5 separate regions of the Homo sapiens genome follow, and all the other regions are linked to region 4. The links are contacts of gene promoters, found by promoter capture Hi-C in human tissues and cell types (Jung and others, 2019). All regions are on one chromosome and are shown on one strand. The core of a region is centred on a gene start or on the middle of the fragment in contact, and the rest is flanking DNA. Distances in the headings are between cores, read along the strand shown.

Region 1 (2,700 bases), core at 110-2,609, 290 kb before region 4:
GCATGTGCATTTCCAGAGGTTAGTCATCAGCATTTCCTACCACCTAGCTGATTATATCATGGAATTTTGATGATGTTTGCAGTTGCTCTAGTTGAAAAACCCTCCCAAGAACCAGAGCATGTTTTTAAAACCTGTTTCTTGTTGTAACTCTTGCCATAATTGCCAAAAATGATTTGCTGCTTACTGGCTGCAACTGCAATGTAATTCTTGAAGTCCCTAGCAGTAGAAAAAAATGCTATACATATATATATATATATATATATATATATATATATATATATATATATATATATATATATAACTGCTTGGGATGAAGGGATGAGGAAATAGATGGCTTTAAAAATACTAATTATTCATTCAAGAAGTTGTAATGAAGTAGAGTTTATACGGCAGTAACTGTGAGATACGGTCTAGAGAGATGCTCTAAGAACTAAAGTGGCAGAGTTTCTGAAAAAACAGTGCTTTGATTCAATTTAATTCAAAATATTTATTATGTTTACACTGGATCCCAGGCAATGGTTAGGAAGCAGAGGGAGGGACCCATGCTCCCCCACTTTAAGGCCCTTTTTACTTCTCAGGGAGCATGTACACAGGCTCTAAAGTACAGTTCCTACCATCATCAACACCGGTTCTCATGGCCACACCCTAAGCCTTAGGAAATCATTTTACTTCTATACATCTAAACTCAAATATGAAAGTTTTAGGACCACAATCTACTATCCTTCTGAAAATCTCATTCCTTTGCTTGTATTAAAAATACATATGTCTTTTGACCTCACAGACTCCGAAGTCATACTCTGCATTTCTTCAGAATTAGTCACATAAGGGATCTATTCTTTGCTTCCTTCCCTTTCCAGAACATACCCCATAGTCTGTTTGGATATTCTTGCCAATGCTCACCTCCACATAATTCTAAGTGTTTCTGGAATTCTCCAACAATCATCTATTTCCAAATTTCTTGGCTTCTTTAGGATTTAATTCCATCTTCTTAGATCTCTGAACGAAGATTGAAACATACACTTTCTTCTTGAAACTCCACTTTGCTTTCATTCATTTATCCATTAATTCAAAAATATTTATTGAGCAATATTATATGCTAGGTTCCAAGAACACAGTTTTGATTAAAACGTTTTTCTTGTTCTCATGGATATAACAATCTAGTAGTGAGGACAGAGAGTAATAATCACACAAATACCTGTAAACTTGGCAACTATGACAGATGTGAAAGAGGAGATGGACAAGGGTCCCAAGAACTCCTTCTGGACTGAATGTGGTAAAAGGTGAGACTGGAGAGTGGGCAAGTGTTAGACAATGCAGGACCTTGCAGCCCAGACGAAGGACTCTTTTTCCCCTTTATTCTAAAAGTTACCAAGAGGTGTCTTTTTTTAAAAAACAGATTGATATGCTTAGGTTTGCTCTTTGAAATTATTTTTCCACCTTTAGTGTAGTAAACAGATTGGCAGCTGGCCAGCATAGATGCAGGCCTGTCAGAAAGTTACAACAATCCTGCTGAAGGACAATAATCACCTGGCTAACATAGTGATAGTCAACATGGAAAAAAGTGAATGAACTTGACAGATATTTTGGATGTAAAAAATCAATAGACCTTGGTGATGGGTTAAAATAGAAGGGTAGGAAAAAAAGAATGTTGATAATATCTCTTGGGCTTCTCTCTTGCACAACTAGATAGATGGGGGTATTATTTTCTGGGAAGTGATCACTGGTGAAGGTGAGAATGAATTTCCAACACATTGAGTTTGAATTGTATTTGAAACTTCCAAGATAAATGTCAAGTAGGCAATTGGATGTATAGGTTTGGAGTTCAGGAGAAAAGACCTGGACCGGATAGATCTATCTATAAGTTGTTATTTGCATGAGATCACTTTTGGGAGGGACAACAAACAGGAAAGAGGGACACAGACCCAAGCTTCATGTGACGATACATTGAATGGGTGGTTAGAGAAGAATGTACTGGCGAAGAAACAGAAAAGTAACATTCAGAAAGTTGGAAAGAACGTCAGGGGAATTTCAGTGCTCTTCCTATTCTCCTCTCTTCAGGAGTCATATGGAAACTTTTTACCTTGAAGCATTGCCTTTGATTTAAATTACATTGGACTGAGCTAGTTCTATGACTTCTTTGAAGCACCTTTCTGTCTCCTTTGCTGACTCTTCTTCTTTCTAAGCAAATGTGGACAAGCCAGTTTGCTCTTCAGATATTTTCATGTCTTTCTCTTCAGCTCTCCCTAAATGATTTCCTCCACTTACGCGATTTCATTAATACCTTTAAACTGACGACTTTTATATATGCATTTTTAATCCTCATCTCTATCTTCAGATGGACAAAACATCATCTCATTGAGTTGCTGCACCAATACTATGTATGTACACTACTCCAGAAAGTCAATTATGAAGCTTAAAATATTTTTACTTTTTGTTATAAAACAAAGGCCTATTAACAGTGAACTGTAGAAATGTATCAGAAGAATAGAAAATTAAGCATACAATTATTTCTTCAGTTAACAGATTTTAGTGAATAATTCCAAAAAACTTCTATGCATATATAAAATACATCCACACAACATATTTTTATTTTTATACACAAGTGTTCACATTGGGCCCATTATTCTACATACTTGATTTTACACTTACTGTAAGTTGGACATCATTCATTATCAATATATAAAGATCTGTCATTTTTTT
Region 2 (2,700 bases), core at 104-2,603, 490 kb after region 4:
GAAAAAAAGGAAAGAGGGAGGGAGAAAAGGTAAGAAAAAGAAAGGGAGAAAGGGAGAGAAGAGCGAGAGAGAAATGGAGAAAGATCTTTTAGCTTCAAATTTAAATGTTTCTCTCAAAGATTAAAAAACAACTGACCAGGTGCGGTGGCTTACACCTGTAATCCCAGCACTTTGGGAGGCCGACGCAGGTGGATCACCTGAGGTCAGGAGTTTGAGACCAGCCTAGCCGACTTGCTGAAACCCCATCTCTACAAAAATACAAAAATTAGCCAGGCTTGGTGGCGCATGCCTGTAATCGCAGCTACTTGGGAGGCTGAGGCAGGGGAATCGCTTGAACCCAGGAGACGGAGGTTGCAGTGAGCCGAGATAGTGCCACTGCATTCCCGCCTGTGGGATAGAGCAAGACTATGTCTCCAAACAAACAAACAAACAAACAAAAAAACAAGAACAGTGTCAAAGAAAAGTTGAAATGTGAGTTGATTTGTTGAAATCTATTCATCATTACTGGTCTACTCTAGGGCTCTGCCTCCTAGGACAGCATAGTTTATTCAGTGAAGTGACTTTAGCTGCATTCCGAATATCTGTTTCATTGTTGGTTTGCTCTCTTTCTACTGACTGATTTGTGTGTTTGGGCAAGGGAGAAGGTGGCTGCCCCACAGCTCCTGTGTTAACATGCCTTCCAAATTAAGGGATTTGATAGAGACTGACTAGAATATCAGAATCTCAGTTCCACAGTTTTGGGAGACACAGTGTGGCTATCACAAGCTGGGATTATATTCACCTCTATCCTAATCAACTGTAACATAGAGGCCAGATTCCACAGGATAAACAGGGTCACCGGGGCTACTCATATGAACATTGTTAAAAATGGAAGCTGTATAATAATACATAAAATATGGATGATATGAAATTAAATGTCATGAAAATTCATGTTCATAATGACATTTATGAAGAAGTTGAAATGTAACTGTCTCAAACTGGGGTGAATTCAAAAGATAAATTCCTTCATTTTCTATAGTTAATTTAATCTCACTTTTGAACTTCCATTTCAGCTACTTTGCAGAGGTGTGAGGAGAGAATTTAAGCTTACAATGAAAAGTAACCCAGTTCCTTGTCTTTGGGAAGGAAGAACCACTTTGCGGCATTTCTTTGTCACTTGCCTCTCCTCTCCTTCTGAACTGTTGATTCAGCTAGGAAACTGGGACAGGGGCCAATCAGGAAAGCGGAGCTTGCAAGGGTGGTTCAGTAGAGGATGATTAATATGGGAAACTAATTACAAAGACATTAAAAGAGCAGAAAGGCCAAGTTGACAGTGAAGCAAATACACAAGGCATTGAGAAAAGGAAGGGCCTGCCCAGCAGGAAGCAGGACCAAAGAAAGTGCAGCCTCACAGAAGCCAAAACCGCAGAAGAAATGAAACCACTGCCAGAAGCAGAGAGAGAGAGAGAGAGAGAGAGAGAGAGAGAGAGAGAGAGAAAGCTGGGTGAGGGGGCTCACACCTGTAATCCCAGCACTTTAAGAGGCCAAGGTGGGAGGATCACCTGAGGTCTGGAGTTTGAGACCAGCCTGACCAACATGGTGAAAGCCCATTTCTACTAAAAATACAAAAAATTAGCCGGGTGTGGCGGCGGGTGCCTGTAATCTCAGCTACTTGGGAGGCTGAGGCAGGAGAATCGCTTGAACCTGGGGGTGGAGGTTGCAGTGAGCCAAGACTGCACCATTGTACTCCAGGTTGGGCAACAAGAGTGAAACGACTTATCAAAAAAAAAAAAAAAAAAAAAAAAGAGAGAGAGAAGTAACTTGGTTTCGTTCTTCCTTCCTTCCTGATCTCTCATTGGTGCCTCGTATTGGCTGAATATAGCCAGAAGTCAGCTGGTAAGGGAAACTGGGAAACAGTTTATAAGAGTCAGCTCCAACAAAAAGAGCAGAACAACAAGGGCAGAACAGGGAAAGAGATGCAGAAAGGCAAATGCCTAGGTCAGATACTTCCAACTACAAATAACCAAAGAACCCACTGAGAATGGCTCAAACTAGAAGGTGTTTAATTAATCTTGATTAACAGATAGGAGGGAGGGCAGTTTCAGGGTTGACTAGAGTAATTGAATAATTCAAATATTAATATATCAAGAACCTATATATTCTTTCCATCTTTCAGCTTTACCACCTTCAGCACATTGGCTTTTCTTTTCACGGCTGGCTCTTTACATGGTTTCATCCTGCTTGTAGTTCCACGTAGCACATATAGACAAAGAAACATCTAGATGGGGGAGTAGATTTGTCTTTTTTTTTTTTTTTTAAGAGACAAGCTCTTGCTGTGTTGCTTAGGTAGGACTCCTGGGCTCAAGCAATCCTCCTGCCTCAGCCTCTCGAATAGCTGGGACTATAGGTGCACACCACTGCACCTAGATATTTGTGTTTTTTTTTTTTTTTTCTGAGACAGGTTCTCTGTTGTTCAGGCTGGAGTGCAGTGGAGTGATCATGGCTCACTGCAGCCTTGACCTCCCAGGCTCAACCAGTCTTCCTAACTCAGTCTCCCGAGTAGCTGGGATTACACGTGTGAGCCACCACACCATGCTAATTTCTAATTTTTTTTTTTTAAGATGGAGTTTTGCTCTTGTTGCCCAGGCTGGAGTGCAATGGCATGATCTCAGCGCATCGCAACCTCTGCCTCCCAGGTTCAAGTGATTCTCCTGCCTCAGC
Region 3 (2,700 bases), core at 119-2,618, 300 kb after region 4:
GCCCATTAATATGTCTATTCTTATCACTGTATAGAGTTTTACTTTCTGTAGCCTTATATTTTAATAGCCATATTTTAATATCTAAAATAGGTAATTCTCCCTAATTATTGTTTCTATTTCAGAATTTCACTTAGGCCTCAACAGAGTTCAGTTTTTTAAGTGCTGTAATTTCTTAAGTCTATTCTTAGCACACTGCACATATGCATGCATACATACACACACACGAAAAAATAAAATAAAATAATATACACACACACACTTTTTTACTGCCTATGAAGCTTCACTAAACTGCAAAACCTGGATGGGCAGCAATCCTGGACATTCTCATAAGCTAAGAATATCCCCTGAGAATATTTAATGGTTTGCAAATGATTCTAACGCACAATCCAGTTAAAAACCAAAATGAGAAACCCTTAGCATTCCCAAATTTAACACTCAAGAACTGACCAACTGAAGGCAGATGTGGAAGTCCATGGCCTTCCATGGTATTAATTTGGCTGAAACAAAATTTTGACTCTTGCATGTGGAGAATCAGTTTCTAGACTGACTGAGAATCAGTTTCTAGAGCTGAATACCATGTTTTCATATCTTGGTCCAGCTTTATTCTTCATTGGACCCTGACTCTTACTGTGACACCCAAAGTGGTAAAAACATTGTTTTGAGAGGAGGAAAATTGCCCTGAAAAGAATGACAACTGGTATCAGTGTTGATGGAAGAGAAATAAAAGGATTTTTACAAAGTGATGGTTTTATCCAGAAAGCAAAGGCTTTAAATGAACTGAAAGATACAATTTTAATACAGTGGTGTATTTCATACTATCGAATAACAAGTTTTGTTTATGTTCTATAAGAAACTAAGAAAAAAAAATCTGTTGATAGCACTTCAACAAGAACTCTGGCCTATGAAAATTCTCCACAACCAAGAGATAATTTTAACAAAAGATAAAAAGATAACAATAACTTAAAATATGAGAGTATGTACAGGAAAAAAAAAATCACCTGAGGTAGAGGCCTCAATTAACATTTCAATAAAAACACAGTTGATAAAGCCACCAGTTGCAGCTAATTAACTGAATCAAACATCAAACAAAAGATGGCTCTAAGCTTTTAAGATTTCATCTCTGCATACTTGTGAAGTTAACAGGAAAGGTGCTATCAGCTGATAAATTTCCCATAAGACCAGTTACTCCTAAGCTGAAGAAACTTACAAAAAACTGGTATTAGCATCCCTAGAAACTGATTTTTCATATTTAAAATAGTAACAGAAAAAATGGGTTATAAGACCAGAATAAGTGTTCAACACAGAAACAGACACAAGTAGGTATGTCTTAAGCACCAAATTCATATACATCCTATGCGGTGATAAAGGTAGCATGTTTCACCATTAAACTGGGTTTGCTCTGCCATTCTGAGAATCCCAGGGCATAAAACAAAAAATATGATTCACTTGACCAAAAATTTGCAGTACACAAAGTCAAAGCACAGCTCCTCCTTTTGCCTAGGCCTCATTAACTATCTTTTGCTATGACGGTATTAGCAAAAATCTAGGGAACACAGCTCAGGAATGTCAAGAGTATGTAACTCAATTCTCCAGCTTCAAAACCAGTGTACATCTCTTGATATTATACAGCCTTTCTAGTTAACAAAATACATACAGTAAATGTAAATTGTTGGTAAAGATTTAACATAATTTATAAACATGCCTAATAATCATTAGTCTCAAGTTATCTCAAAGAAATTTATGAAAGGTATAGCAGAAAAGGCCATTAAGAATCACGATTTCTGGGTACGTGCACCACCACCTGCCCCCTCTCCCCACCACATGGCAGCAAATAACAATGATACATTTTCTAGACTTTCATGATAAAACAAATCATCCAGATTTGAGAAAGAAAAGTGGAAACAAAGAGTTGGAAAGAAGAGAAAAATGACAAAAAATAACACGGTTATAATGCAGACAGGAGAACTTGCTCTGAAGAAATTTTATTCACATATGTGGATAGAATGGCATATTGAAATCATTTAAGCAAGGAAGAAAAAAAGGAATTTTATTGAAGCTCCTGAACCATAAATTCTTTTTACATTCACTGATAATCCTTAGGTTGAAGAACACGGCAACACATTCAAATCCAAGTTAAGATTATTTATTATAATAGAGAATATCAAAATACTCAAAAGCCTTATTCAGCTCTACAAATAGTTTGTCTGTTATCTGTTCATATTTATTAGTCAGTGTCCATGCAATAACAATTATTAAACATTTTAAATATCACTTCTGAACCTAACTAGTTAGACCTTACAGAAACTTTTGTAGAAGAATTAATGGTTCAGTTACAACAAACACTTGTAGAGCATCTAATCCATGTGCCAAGGCCAGTGTTAGGCAACAAGAATAAAAACAGAAGGCAACACGGTTCCCTGCCCTCAAGAAGCTAACAGCTTAAGAAGCTTAAACATAATTTCCAATATAATATAATATGACAAGTCAGGTTTTACAGCATTGTATGAGAGAGAAGAACAGAGACACTTAGGACAAACAGGTGTATTAGGAAAGACTATCTGAAGTACACAACTGGTATCATGACTAGTAAATTAGGCAAAGCAAAAGGAAAAAGGCCGCAGTCCCAAAGAGAAAATATTAAGAATGAGAACTAGAACAGTAGAAGTTTAAGAAAAACCAACAACAAAAGAAAGAGAGAGA
Region 4 (2,700 bases), core at 201-2,700:
AATTTCTTGTTGAATTTTTTCTAATCTGACTCTATCAGTTATGGGAATGTTCCCTCAATTCTTAGTGCTCCAAACCGGACTTGCTCTTGGCTTGTATTTGTCCAAAATATTTGTCTTCTCTATGTTTTCTACATGTTTGTCTTATAAGGACAAAAACCTGCCTTAGTTTATCCATGAACAAAGCCACGCATGCTAGTGGACACACACACACATGCGCGTGCGCGCGCACACACACACACACACACATACACACAGAGACTTTGTATGTGAGTAATGAATCATCAAATCATCATAATTTCTGGACTTGTATTAATAAGTCGGCCAGGAGGAAAAGAATCTGCTGTCAATCATGGCTTCTGGTTCTCACAGTCATCTCTACTTTCTTCCAGCAAGTTTGGTTCTGTCAAAAACCAGCTGTCAGCCTTGTTCCTGCATGCCCAATGCAGAAGAGTCAGTAAAGAAGATTTGGTTCTCTGTATTTCAGGGGCATCAATGCCAGGTTGAAATATGCCATTCTGGCCCAGCTCAGTGGCTCACACGTGTAATCCCAGCACTTTGGAAGGCCAAAGCGGGTGGATTGCTTGAGCTCAGGAGTTCGAGACCAGCCTGGGCAAGAGGCTGAGGTGGGAGGATGACCTGAGCCCGGGAGGTCAAGGCTGCAGCGAGCTGTGATCGTGCCACTGCACTCGAGCCAGGGCGTTGGAGTGAGACCCTGTCAAAAAAAAAAAAAAAAAGGAAGGAAAAAAGGAAGGAAGGAAGGGAGGGAGGGAAGATGCCATTCTTAGATTGAAGTGGACTTTATCTGGGCAGAACACACACACACATACACACATGCACACACACATTGTGGAGAAATTGCTGACTAAGCAAAGCTTCCAAATGACTTAGTTTGGCTAAAATGTAGGCTTTTAAAAATGTGAGCACTGCCAAGGGTTTTTCCTTGTTGACCCATGGATCCATCAAGTGCAAACATTTTCTAATGCACTATATTTAAGCCTGTGCAGCTAGATGTCATTCAACATGAAATACATTATTACAACTTGCATCTGTCTAAAATCTTGCATCTAAAATGAGAGACAAAAAATCTATAAAAATGGAAAACATGCATAGAAATATGTGAGGGAGGAAAAAATTACCCCCAAGAATGTTAGTGCACGCAGTCACACAGGGAGAAGACTATTTTTGTTTTGTTTTGATTGTTTTGTTTTGTTTTGGTTGTTTTGTTTTGGTGACCTAACTGGTCAAATGACCTATTAAGAATATTTCATAGAACGAATGTTCCGATGCTCTAATCTCTCTAGACAAGGTTCATATTTGTATGGGTTACTTATTCTCTCTTTGTTGACTAAGTCAATAATCAGAATCAGCAGGTTTGCAGTCAGATTGGCAGGGATAAGCAGCCTAGCTCAGGAGAAGTGAGTATAAAAGCCCCAGGCTGGGAGCAGCCATCACAGAAGTCCACTCATTCTTGGCAGGATGGCTTCTCATCGTCTGCTCCTCCTCTGCCTTGCTGGACTGGTATTTGTGTCTGAGGCTGGCCCTACGGTGAGTGTTTCTGTGACATCCCATTCCTACATTTAAGATTCACGCTAAATGAAGTAGAAGTGACTCCTTCCAGCTTTGCCAACCAGCTTTTATTACTAGGGCAAGGGTACCCAGCATCTATTTTTAATATAATTAATTCAAACTTCAAAAAGAATGAAGTTCCACTGAGCTTACTGAGCTGGGACTTGAACTCTGAGCATTCTACCTCATTGCTTTGGTGCATTAGGTTTGTAATATCTGGTACCTCTGTTTCCTCAGATAGATGATAGAAATAAAGATATGATATTAAGGAAGCTGTTAATACTGAATTTTCAGAAAAGTATCCCTCCATAAAATGTATTTGGGGGACAAACTGCAGGAGATTATATTCTGGCCCTATAGTTATTCAAAACGTATTTATTGATTAATCTTTAAAAGGCTTAGTGAACAATATTCTAGTCAGATATCTAATTCTTAAATCCTCTAGAAGAATTAACTAATACTATAAAATGGGTCTGGATGTAGTTCTGACATTATTTTATAACAACTGGTAAGAGGGAGTGACTATAGCAACAACTAAAATGATCTCAGGAAAACCTGTTTGGCCCTATGTATGGTACATTACATCTTTTCAGTAATTCCACTCAAATGGAGACTTTTAACAAAGCAACTGTTCTCAGGGGACCTATTTTCTCCCTTAAAATTCATTATACACATCCCTGGTTGATAGCAGTGTGTCTGGAGGCAGAAACCATTCTTGCTTTGGAAACAATTACGTCTGTGTTATACTGAGTAGGGAAGCTCATTAATTGTCGACACTTACGTTCCTGATAATGGGATCAGTGTGTAATTCTTGTTTCGCTCCAGATTTCTAATACCACAAAGAATAAATCCTTTCACTCTGATCAATTTTGTTAACTTCTCACGTGTCTTCTCTACACCCAGGGCACCGGTGAATCCAAGTGTCCTCTGATGGTCAAAGTTCTAGATGCTGTCCGAGGCAGTCCTGCCATCAATGTGGCCGTGCATGTGTTCAGAAAGGCTGCTGATGACACCTGGGAGCCATTTGCCTCTGGGTAAGTTGCCAAAGAACCCTCCCACAGGACTTGGTTTTATCTTCCCGTTTGCCCCTCACTTGGTAGAGAGAGGCTCACATCATCTGCTAAAGAATTTACA
Region 5 (2,700 bases), core at 80-2,579, 270 kb after region 4:
TATAACCCTTATAACTGTCAACTAAAGAAGCAGCTCAACTACTTATGTCTATATCATCAAGATGAAAAGATATGCCAGATTTACTATGGGTTTTAAAGTGAAAGAATGGGCAGATCTATGATTTCATATCCATAATTTTAAAATCCAAAAAACTCCAACCTCAGGCTTTTAGTAACTCATGTGGGGGCAAAACCTGACCTAATAGAGGCTTTTTATATTCTTTCCCATTTAGTGTGATATTAATACAGTTCATGCAAGAAATATTAATGTTTGGTTACTAGGTGCTGCCACAAAGCAATGGGGTTTACATAACTTCACACACACACTTCTAAAAAAAATTTTTAAATTGATTTCCAACACACATGTGGCCTCAATATTTCAGATGAGGGATTGTGGACTTGTGCTTAAAGAGACAGAAATTTGGGCTAATGAAATCATACAGTAAGTTATCTGCATTTAAAAGATCTTTAAGTATACTGGCTGGGCACAGTGGCTGATGCCTGTAATCCCAACACTTTGGGAGGCCAGAGTTGGTGGATCCCAGAGTTGGTGGATCCCTTGAGCTCAGGAGTTCAAAACCAGCCTGGGCAACATGGTGAGACCTGTTTCTATCAAAACTACAAAAAATGAGCCGCACGCCTGTGGTTCCAGCTACTGGGGAGGCTGCAGTGGGAGGACTGCTCGAGCCCAGGAAGCAGAGGTTGCAGTGAGCCAAGATTGTGCCACTGCACTCCAGCCTGGGTGACAGAGTGAGACCCCATCTCAAAAAACAAACAAACAAACAAACAAAAAAACAGATATTTAAATGTCACAACTAACATCTAAGCAAGCAGGAAGATAAAGGTAACAATATGAGTGAAATGTTCTAATAAAGTTATAGCTGGCAGTCACTTCATGAAATTCCAGTGAAAATATGTTTTTGAATCTAAATGTGAGTGGGACTTCATTATGGCCATATTCTTAAAAAGAAAAAAATCAGATGAAATTTGGGGACATTAGAAGCTTTAAAAATAAATGAGAAAACAAGGGATTAATGTAGAAATCCCGCACATAGATTTAATAGGATAAAAAAATAAGCTAGACATAGCATTATACTGAAGACACTGACTCTCTGTACTGATTAGTCAGTGTCAAGCTTATAGTCGAGCTAAAACTTGTGGAGGAATTATTAATTTTGTTATTACATCCAACACAGCTGCATTAACAAAAAGTGAAATAGAGTATTCAGTGTGTAAAAACACACTAAAATACATAGAGACACCTAGATACCATCAAGAAGGTTACAGCATTGGTAAAATGGTAACAGTGATAGAACACATAAAAGACTAGTGGTACCAACTATGTATAGGATCACATGTACCTTCAGAACACAGGTTTACTAAATACACTATTTTGACTCTTTAAGAAGAACAAGGCCAGGCACAGTGGCTCACGCCTGTAATCCCAGCACTTTGGGAGGTGGGCAGATCACGAGGTCAGGAGTTTGAGACCAGCCTGACCAACATGGTGAAGCCCCGTCTCTACTAAAAATACAAAAATTAGCCAGGCATGGTGGTGCGCACCTGTAATCCCAGCTACTCAGGAGGCTAAGGCAAGAGAATTGCTTGAACCTGGGAGGCAGAGGTTGCAGTGAGCCGAGATTGCGCCACTGCACTCCAGCCTGGGTGACAGAGCAAGACTCCGTCTCAAAAAAAAAAAAAGAACAAGTATATTTAGCCTTTACCTCAAATGCTCAGTTGCTGAAAGTCCTTTTAAATAGTTGATATTTGTGATAGCTTCAAATATAAATGGAAAACAAGACCAAGAACTCACTATCTCACTTCTAATTTATCCTGAAGATATACATGTGTGAGTACAAAATGACATGCTTAGGATTATTCATTGTGGCTTTGCCTGTAACAGAAAATGACTAGACACAAATCAAATGGTCTAGTTGAATGATACATATATATAATAGTGCTTGTGCGTAAGAAATTAAAGGAGTTTGCTCTTTTCTCTGCTTCTCTACATGTTAAAATTATTCCTAACAGAAACAATTGTATTAAAAAAAAAAGATTTAGGGGGAAAGATTTCTAATCCACATAGCTCATTGTTTGAGTTCAGTATGCTATACACATAGTAGTATGCAAATGACTCTTATTTTTATCTTCTCTCAATGAGCTACAGTAACTTTCATTCTCACCCTTGTTTGATAAATATATATTGTTACAGATTATTTCATCATACAGTATAGATGGGTAACTACTTCTACTATTCCCTTAAACATCTCAAATTCCATAAAATATTTCTGAAATATTAGGCACAGGAATATTCTATGAATTTTTTCACCAGTTTTCATGTCTTCCACTGTCTGTCCAAATATGATAAATGGTCTATTAGCTGACTTCCATCATAATCATACCACCTTGTTGAACTAACCAACTTCCCTATTCTCTTACAAGAAAATACTGAGTGATGTTTATGGAACTGAACATCAGTGGCTTTAGGCTTTCTGTAATGCCCATCATATTCTCCTTTCAAGAGTCACTATCTATTCCCAAACTTGTTCACATAAATTAAGTATTGTGTAAACTGCTTTCATCCATAGCTGAAAGTATAGCTTTTATCTGTAGATAAAAATCCAGACATACACAGTGTTTAGATTACTTGACAAACTGTCTAGATTCTCACTCTGAAGAAACCAAAACTGGAAACATAAAG

The links. The method cuts DNA at HindIII sites, captures the fragments that hold promoters and counts their contacts. A contact is called where the count stands out against the background at its distance.
Region 1: a contact is called between a fragment that was not itself captured here and the fragment with the promoter of TTR in region 4, in 2 of the 25 tissues and cell types used here (heart right ventricle and mesenchymal stem cells).
Region 2: a fragment that was not itself captured here is called in contact with the fragment with the promoter of TTR in region 4 in 1 of the 25 tissues and cell types used here (thymus).
Region 3: a contact is called between a fragment that was not itself captured here and the fragment with the promoter of TTR in region 4, in 5 of the 25 tissues and cell types used here (H1 embryonic stem cells, aorta, bladder and 2 more).
Region 5: a fragment that was not itself captured here is called in contact with the fragment with the promoter of TTR in region 4 in 2 of the 25 tissues and cell types used here (H1 embryonic stem cells and dorsolateral prefrontal cortex).

What each region holds. Positions count from the first base shown.
Region 1 is chr18:31,303,157-31,305,856 of GRCh38, forward strand. No RefSeq gene overlaps it. Among named protein-coding and RNA genes, the nearest start is that of DSG1, 14 kb to the right of the region's middle. The HindIII fragment of the contact is 5,396 bases long and covers 1-2,700 here.
Region 2 is chr18:32,083,941-32,086,640 of GRCh38, forward strand. It overlaps a transcript of RNF125 not described here. Among named protein-coding and RNA genes, the nearest start is that of RNF138, 6.6 kb to the right of the region's middle. RefSeq lists an enhancer at 1,312-1,441. The HindIII fragment of the contact is 4,077 bases long and covers 1-2,700 here.
Region 3 is chr18:31,893,616-31,896,315 of GRCh38, forward strand. The region is part of intron 11 of TRAPPC8 (trafficking protein particle complex subunit 8); the gene reads right to left. Among named protein-coding and RNA genes, the nearest start is that of TRAPPC8, 48 kb to the right of the region's middle. The HindIII fragment of the contact is 5,022 bases long and covers 1-2,700 here.
Region 4 is chr18:31,590,427-31,593,126 of GRCh38, forward strand. It overlaps TTR (transthyretin), which reads left to right and starts at 1,451. Exons shown (of 4, transcript NM_000371.4): 1 at 1,451-1,545; 2 at 2,470-2,600. The coding sequence starts at 1,477. The HindIII fragment of the contact is 7,126 bases long and covers 1-2,700 here.
Region 5 is chr18:31,858,329-31,861,028 of GRCh38, forward strand. All of the region lies in intron 19 of TRAPPC8 (trafficking protein particle complex subunit 8), which reads right to left. Among named protein-coding and RNA genes, the nearest start is that of TRAPPC8, 83 kb to the right of the region's middle. RefSeq lists a silencer at 2,564-2,700. The HindIII fragment of the contact is 3,368 bases long and covers 1-2,700 here.